Linked DNA regions of Homo sapiens: region 1 is linked to region 2. The links are contacts of gene promoters, found by promoter capture Hi-C in human tissues and cell types (Jung and others, 2019). All regions are on one chromosome and are shown on one strand. The core of a region is centred on a gene start or on the middle of the fragment in contact, and the rest is flanking DNA. Distances in the headings are between cores, read along the strand shown. Region 1 has its middle 32 kb from the start of NUTF2P4. Region 2 holds the start of SYT6 (synaptotagmin 6).

Evidence for each region. Contacts are between HindIII fragments. The study calls those that stand out against the background at their distance.
Region 1: a contact is called between a fragment that was not itself captured here and the fragment with the promoter of SYT6 in region 2, in 1 of the 25 tissues and cell types used here (pancreas).

What each region holds. Positions count from the first base shown.
Region 1 is chr1:112,777,982-112,782,301 of GRCh38, forward strand. No RefSeq gene overlaps it. Among named protein-coding and RNA genes, the nearest start is that of NUTF2P4, 32 kb to the left of the region's middle. The HindIII fragment of the contact is 4,043 bases long and covers 1-3,599 here.
Region 2 is chr1:114,152,619-114,156,854 of GRCh38, forward strand. It overlaps SYT6 (synaptotagmin 6), which reads right to left and starts at 1,251. Exons shown (of 8, transcript NM_001253772.2): 1 at 992-1,251. The coding sequence starts at 1,154. RefSeq lists an enhancer at 2,426-3,039 and a silencer at 3,969-4,236. The HindIII fragment of the contact is 10,069 bases long and covers 1-4,236 here.

The DNA of each region.
Region 1 (4,320 bases), core at 328-2,827, 1.4 Mb before region 2:
CTGTAGTCCTAGCTACTCGGGAGGCTGAGGCAGGAGAATCGCTTAAACCCGGGAGGCGGAGGTTGCAGTGAGCCGAGATCGAGCCATTGCACTCCAGCCTGGGTGACAGAGCGAAGAGCGAGACTCTGTCTCAAAAAAAAAAAAAAAGAAAAAGAAAAAGAAAAAAGAAAGTTCAACATCCGTATGGACAACTTCTCCAACACTTTAAAGCTTCCTACTCCTTCTCAGCTACCTGCTCACTCCCATGACTGTTCCCTTGACTCTTGTCACAGTAACCACCACTACCTATTTCTGTTTAAAACAAAGCTCATGATCCTCCCCCTCTAATGTGCCTTACTCCTTCCACACCCTCTGTCTCAGTAAATGGCACCACCCACCAGTCAGCCAAGGCAGAAACCTGATGTCATCCTGAGTCCTCCCTTTGCTCAGCCCTAACCATTTCATGGTAATTCACAGAAGCAGCACTGGGCATGTAGTGGGATCCAGGCACAGTGCTGGGTGCTAGCAGTACAAAGACTATTTAGGCACAGTATCTGCCCTCAAGGAGCTCACACTCAAGTGGAAAATTATGATGGAGAGTTATGCAATCTAGTGGGATCACCTCTTATATTATTTTCTCTATTTTACATATGGAGAGACTATAAAAGCACTAGTTGCCCACGGCTGGTAAGCGGCATGATTAGGACTCAAATTCAGCTCTGTGTGACTCTACAAAGCATTTTCTTCTGTCCTTTGGGCGGCCAGAAATTCCTGCCCATTTTATCTTCTAGTGTTGAAGTCTTCTCCATTGCTAATGTCGGTGACTTAGTGTTAAGCTCATGGTCTCTCCCATGGACCATTAACATTTCCGTCTAATTGGCCTCCTTGCCTTGCTGCCTCCAATTCCACCTCTAAATAGCTGCCAAAGTGATCTTGGAAAGCAGAAATCAGGTCTTGCCATTCCCTGCCCAGCAGGGTAAAATCCACACTGCTCAGCAAAACTGCTGAGGCCTTTCATGCCCAGATTCTGCCCACTTTTCTGGCTTCTCAAGTCCCACTATGTCACCTCAGTTCCCCAAACTGGCCTTGGGCAAGTTTCTTAACCACTCTGGGCCCTAGTTTCTTCAATTGCAAAACAAAGATAATAAAATCTACTGTGTAGGTCACTGTGAACACTAAATGAAGAAAATATATCGCCAGGTGTAGTGGCTCACTCCTGTAATCCCAGCACTTTGGGAGGCTGAGGAAGGCGGATCACAAGGTCAGGAGTTTGAGACCAGCCTGGCCAACATGGTGAAACTCCATCTTTACTAAAAATACAAAAATTAGCTGGACATGGTAGCAGGCACCTATAGTCCCAGCTACTCGGGAGGCTGGGGCAAGAGAATCGCTTGAACCCAGGAAGCGGAGGTTGCAGTGAGCCGAGATCATGCCATTGCACTCCAGCCTGGGCGAAAGAGTGAAACTCCATCTTAAAAAAACGAAACAAAACAAAACATACACACACACACACACACACACACACATATATAATTAAAGCTGTTACAGTCACACCTGGCATACGCATTCAGTAAATGTTGCAGATATCACTGTTATTAATGTTGGGACATTTCTCCTCCCTCTCTGCCTAGCAAACCCTAGTCATCTTTCAAGCCTCACCCTCTTAAACTGTAACATCTCAGACATCCCGAGTAGAACTGGCCATTGCTTCTGTGTCCTCACTGTGCACTACACAGCCTTTCAGGATAGATTTATGATATTCTATTCACTCATTAGCTAACCTGTCTGTCTCCTCTCCTAGACTATAAGTCCCTTGATTACAAAGATTGTGTTTCATTGACCTTGCTTCCTAGCACTGAGTACTGTGCCTGGTTGCTGGTCTGTACACAGCAAAGATTTGGCCAGCGGATGTATGAATCAGTAGGTTATTCAGCTTCTCTAGCTAAGGATTTTGACTATCTGGACAGGGGTACCCATAGTCATGCTCCTGACTCTGCCTGGACTCTTCTTGCTGTACCTGGAAGCTTGTGCTTCCCACTCCTGAAAAAGAAGTGGCTAATCTCTTGTCATTCCTGCTTCACAGCACGCCCCTCCCACTACCCCCAACATCTGGCTCTGCCTAATGAAATGCTGGATTATTAATGGCTCCTATTCAGCATGTCCAGTTAAAGCCACCTCCCACAGCTGTTTGAATTTCATCAGAGGCTTCGGCAAGCTTTCTATCCCCAAATCTTTCAGCCCCAAAGCCACATTTGGAGGGGAGATTTCAATAAGGAACGTTCAGGTCAGTAGCAGCCTATCTGCAGGCTGGTTTCTATCCCCCTCTGTCCCTTCATTTCTATGTGTGGAGGAAGCAAGTGGGAGCCGTGGAGGGAGCCAGGATGACAAAGGGAACGCAACGATCCATTATTTCCTCTCAGAACAAATTAATTTGTGTCTAAGGAAATCTGAGTCAAGCTTTACTGGAGGGGCTGGAGACAGCAGAAGGGATGTAAGATGAAAAATGAAGGCCTGGCGGGGCGCGGTGGCTCACGCTTGTAATCCCAGCACTTTGGGAGGCCGAGGTGGGCAGATCACGACATCAGGAGTTTGAGACCAGCCTGACTAATATGATGAAACCCCGTCTCTACTAAAAATACAAAAATTAGCCAGGCATGGTGATGCATGCCTGTAATCCCAGCTACTCAGGAGTCTGAGGCAGGAGAATCGCTTGAACCTGGCAGGCGGAGGTTGCAGTGAGCCGAGATCGTGCCATTGCACTCCAGCCTGAGTGACAGAGTGACAGAGCGAGACTCCGTCTCAAAAAAAAAAAAAAAAAAAAAAGAAGGCCTTCTTGGATTTAGGCCTAGAGACATCCAAACTCAGTTGCCTATTCTTCCTACCTCTGCTGCTTGGAGACTATTGCTGGAGGGCTCAAAGGACCATCTCTTCCTTCTACTTAATACATTCTGAGGCCAGTTGGTTTCCTTTATTCTTTTTTTTTTCTTTTTGTGGCTGGGTCTTGCTGTGTTGCCCAGGCTGGAGTGCAGTGTTGGAATCATAGCTCACCACAACCTCGACTTCCTGGGATCAAGCAATTTTCCCAGTCTCTTGGGTAACTCAGTCTCTTGGGTAGCTGGGACTACAGGCACATGCCACCATGCCTGGCTAATTTTTTATTTTTTGTAGAAAGAAAGTCTCACTATTTTTCCCAGGCTGGTCTTGAGCTCTTAGGCTCAAGCAATCCTTCTGCCTCAGCCTCCCAAAGTGCTGGGATAATAGGTGTGAGCCACCGCTCCCAGTCAGCTTCCTTTGCTAACTCTTGTCAGCTCTGGGATTGGCATAATTTTTGTCTCTATGGAAAGTTGATGGCCGGAAAGTTGATGGTGGGACATTACTGTGGGCCCTGGCACCAGCAGGATCTAGATATGCCTTTGGACAAGTTATGCTCTTCTCTGGGCCTCAGTTTCCTAATTGATAAATCAGGAAGTAGAATCTCAGGCAGGTTTACTTCACATGGCTGTTGTGAGGGTAAAGTGTTACCTGGTACATTGCCTGCTTATTCACCAGACCATCTCAGAGTTATCCTGTTCCTAGAACCTGAGAAAGTCTCTGACATGTAGTAGGAGCTCAATGAAACATGTTACATTCGTCAATTCTTGCATTGCTATAAAGAAATAACTAAAACTAGAACATTTATTTATTTATTTATTTATTTATTTATTTTTGAGATGGAGATCTCGCTCTGTTGCTCAGGGTAGAAGAAATGGCATGATATCGGCTCACTGCAACCTCTGCCTCCCAGGTACAAGTGATACTCCTGTCTCAGCCTCCTGAGTAGCTGGAATTACAAGTGCCCGCCACAACATCTGGCTAATTTTTGTATTTTAGTAGAGATGGGGTTTCACCAGGTTGGCCAAGCTGGTCTCCAACTCCTGACCTCAGGTGATCCACCTGCCTCAGCCTCCCAAAGTGCTGAGATTACAGGAGTAAGCCACCACGCCTGGCCAGACTGGGTAATTTGTTAAAGAAAAGAGGTTTAATTGGCTCACAGTTCTGCAGGCTGTACAGGAAGCATGATGCTGACATCTGCTTAGCTTCTGGACAGGCCTTAGGAAACTTACAATCATGGCGGAAGGCAAAGGGGAAACAGGCATGACTTACATGGCCAGAGCAAGAGCAAGAATGAGAGAGGGGATGTGCTACACACTTTTAAATTAGATCTTGTTAGAACTCTATCACTATACAGTACCAAGGGGGGATGGTGTTAAACCATGAGAAACTGCCCCCATAATCCAATCACTTCCCACCAGATCCCACCTCCAACACTGGGGATTACAATTTGACATGAGATTTGGGTGG
Region 2 (4,236 bases), core at 1-2,500:
ATACCCTGGGCCGGCCGCCACGTCGCCGACCCTCCCGCAGCTCCCGCCGCCAGGGCGCGACACGCCATTCCCCCTGCCGCGACTCCCCGGAGACGCCGCAGCTGCGCGCCAGGGTCCAGCCCGGCGGGGATCGGGCTCGGGACTCACCCGCTCCGGCGAGCTCGACTCAGCTCGGGCTCCCGCCTCGGCTAGGCAGCCGCCTGGGGCTGCGTCCCGCGCAGGGTCAGCGCGGATCGGGCAGGAGGCGCCCTCTTGGCAAAGTCGGCTAGAGGCGCCAGCTCAGTCGCGCACCGGCCCCGAGTCCGAGTCCGAGAGGGACGGAGGGAGCGAGTTATAGGGGCGAGAGGGGGTGGGGGAAGGACGCCGCAACACCCTCATACCCTCCCCCACCCCGCCCCCTGTCCCCCGCCCCCCAGCGGAGACGCGGAAAACCACTCGCAGCCGGAGAGACACCCGGACACAAAGACCTCGTGCCAGCCGCAGACCCAAGTTTCTCCCGGAGAGACTGGGGGTCCGCCCGCGTTCACCGCGAGAACACACAAACGGACGGACAGACCGACGCACGGACCCGGGGACCTCGACACTCGCTAGGAGGCAAGCCCTATTCCTCAGCCGGGCGCCCCTCGTCTCCCGCTCTCTCCATGGACCCCTCTCCTGGCAAATCGCCCGCAGAGCGAGCTTGGAGATGCGAGGGAAACTGAAGCCCCAAGGGTGCCCCGTCCTGGGAGCCTGGCTGTCTGCGGGGTCCCCCGCATTCCGCAGTAGTAATACAGGAGGGCCGGGGGCTTCTACCCCAACCTCCGCTCCCCTTCGGGTCTCTCCTGGCTGTGCAAGCGATGGGCCAGAGGGCTGGACGAGGCTGGCTCCCAATCCAGAATCCCGAGCTGGGGAGTTCTCTCTAGGTTCTGGGGCTCCTGGGACCGGGGCTTTGGGGAAGGGAGATCGCAGGACGGATATCCAGGAAGGGAGGGGGCCCTGGGTCTCCCGTTACCTGCGCCTGCCGCGCTGGGACTCCGCTCTGGGGGCTGCAGCTCGAAGCTCCGACAAGTCTCCACGTCCAGCCCGAGAGGGGGCGGCCGGGCCCGGCACAGCGAGGCGAGGACCGCGAGCGCCTCCTGGCACCGAGGCCCGCCGGCCCCCCACACTCCGCTCATGCCCTAGACACCCAGGCTTGCCGAGCAGCAGCTCGAACCCGCGCCCCGGCCGCACTGGGGCGGGGCACGACGGCCCCAAGAAGACCCTCCCTGCAGCGGCCCCCTGCGGCTCCGCTCTGCTTTTAATCACTTCCCCGCAGGGTCCCCGCCCCTCACGTGGCATCCCGCGGCAGCTGGCGAGTCTGGCGCCTCGCGGCCGCCCCCTCTACACTCAGGGACTGGCCTGAGTCCGGGGGGTGGGGGTTTCGAGGCGGGAAGCCGGGCTGTCCCGAATCTCGGAGGGTGCAAGGCCAGGAAAGAGTCCGGGTTCCCACTCCGCATTCACTGCCTGGTGTGACCTTGGGCGTCTCTGAGCCTCAATTTTCCTCTCCGTAAAGGAGGTGTAATGATTTTAAGTACTTCACGGACTCCCTGGGGATAGAAAGATCGTGTTTGTGAAAACACTGGGTAAACTGCCACATGCCACACGAATGACAGAGAAATAGATAACCCCGTAACAGAAAGAGCGACGGTCAGGCAGGGTCTGGGAGGACCTTGGCCGAGGTTCCTGACGGGAGCAGTTAGACTGGCCCCCGAGTCCCAGCTTCGGAGGTAGAAGACCCCAAGACAGGCGGGCGATGCGAACTGCAAGACTTTCCGAGCTCCGCAATCCTGCGGTCCGCGGTACCCGCATGTTGCTATGGCGACGGGAGGCAGCGGCCGTCTCTCTCCATGGCAACGGGAGGGAAAAGTTTCTGGCAAACAGGAATGGGGGGTCATTTCAAGAGGGCGCAGGGCGCTCAGTTCCGCCGACCCACCTCCTTGCTTCGGTGAAACAGCACCAGAGATCATGTATCTTTCTGCTAAGCATAACAAGAAAGACAGAAAGCTCAACGGGAGGATTGAGGCTAGACTTAAAGTAGAGATCCCCTCAGAAACTGTGGAGTGAGGCCCAGGAACAGATCGGCTGAGAGGCTTCGAGCTGCCTCACTCAGCGCTGGAAGTCTGTGAGCCATGGTCAGGGAGGCCGGGGGACCAGCGCCCTGCAGGGGCCTATCTCGGGAGTCTCTTGATCTACACCTGTCGGCGGTGGGGCCCCTTCTGTGTGGGGCTCGCCTGAAGCCCCAGACTCAGGTCCATTTGCTCTCCCGGAGCTGGGAAGGAAGCTTTAGCTGCAGCCCCTGGAGGCTGCTGGGTTGGTGTATGCCCGAGTGGCTGGCGAGGGAGAAAGGTCTTGCCTCTTAATTAACACGCTTATTGGAAGTGACTCGGGCAGTGACTCACGTTCCGGAGGGAGGAGATTCGGAGCCTTAGCTCCTGGCGGTCTCCACTGCGCGCCATCTGTGCCAACCGGCCCTTGGACTTGCGATCCCCTAGCAGCTGGTGCCTGGGGCACCAAGGGCTAAGGCAAGGCCTGTGAGGACCCTGGCCCAGCCAGGCGGCTTTTCCACCGTGAGGCGCCCCCTGGCTCTGTCCACGGTGCTGAAGACCCAGTTGGTGCTACCATCGCGTGGGCATAAGTTTAGGGGACGAGGGAGAGGCAATTGTTGAAGGTTCGCAGCTTCCACCCTGACCCCTGTGCCTGTGATAGCAGAAGGCTAGGAACTCAGGCAGGGACCAAGCAGACACGACGCAGGCGATACTGTGCAATCCGGGCTGCCTTCCTGCTGGAGGTGTTTGGTTGCTGTTCCAAGAACAAGTGGGGCTCTGGCATCCCTATGCGCCTTCCTGGTGCTTCTGAAAACCCACCTGAGGAGCCTAGAGGCCCCATTAATTTCTTTTCCATCACCCGATGCAGATCTCAGCACCCAGAAGAGCCTCTGGCTAAACGCTTATTAGCAGTTTCCCAAGTGGCAGGTTTGTGTTTATGTAAAATACAAATGGAGAACTGCTCTTTGCCCGTGTTTATGGCAACTCTGTCACTCCCCTGCTATTTCTCCCTCCCCCTCGCGAGTTCCTGGGGGAAATTCACAGAACAAAGCACCTTGTTTTGCCTTTGCAGAGAATGAAAAAACACAGGACCATTCCAAGGGCCCAGACCTGTGATGCAGGGAAATCAATATTTTGCTTACATCGAGTGGGGGAATTTGCATCTAAACTGAAGGCAAAGGAGCTTGTTTGGAGCAGAGCAGGTGGCAGGAGCCGAGAATTAACAGATAATTTCTCATTGTTCCTGGATTCAGCCTCCACACTCGGCAGGCGCTTCTGCAGCGTCTCTGGCGCCCCGGCAGCAGCTCCGGACCTGGCATTTCTCAATCTAGCAGTGTGAAGGAGCTGCTGCCCTGATAGGGCTGCAGAAACAGGTTAGGGCCCCTGGGTCAGTCAATAGCTATTGAAGTTGGATTGTAGGAGTTAGCGTGTGTGGGAGAGACAGAGATGAGAGAGACAGAGAGAAAGAAACAGAGACAGAAATAGAGGCAAGAGACAGATACAAATGAGAGAGACAGAGGATGAGACAGAGATACAGAGAGACAGTTATAGGAAATAGAGAACAGAGAAACAGACAGGGAGACAGATGTACAGGTAAAGAAACACACATTCAGAAGGAGACATTAAGGTAAAGCCTCACCCTAGTTGTCCTCTTTAGCCCGCTACCTCCCCCAGCCCCCAGGTCAATTGCTGATACCACTGTGGTCACATAACCAGCCACAAAGCAGAAAAATTCTTCATGTAATGATGGAAACTTTTTTGTCTCTCAAACCCCTTTGCCCTGCAAACCCAACCCCCAAACACACCTTTGCTTCTTCCCATATGAAGAGATAAAATTCAGAGTCCCAGGGTCCCACCAAGAGCTGGGAGGGAGGATCCAGGGTCCCACTCAAACCCAGAGAGGGAAAGAGGTGGAAAGAAGTGGAATTGTTGCCCTTCAATTCTATCTCTCAGAGAAATCCCATTCTGAGTTTGGGTTTAGGGGTGGGGAGGAGAGAAGCAGGAGCAGAGACAGTTAAGCATGGAGTGGTGGCAAATAAGTACATTGGACAGGGCCTGGGAGGGCTGGGATTCAGGGCTGGTGCACCAAAGCAGCCACGAGGCTGTCACATCCCCTATCTGGGGCTCAGTGTGCCTATGTGAAGTTGGATTAGGAGCTCTTTGAGGCTCCTTC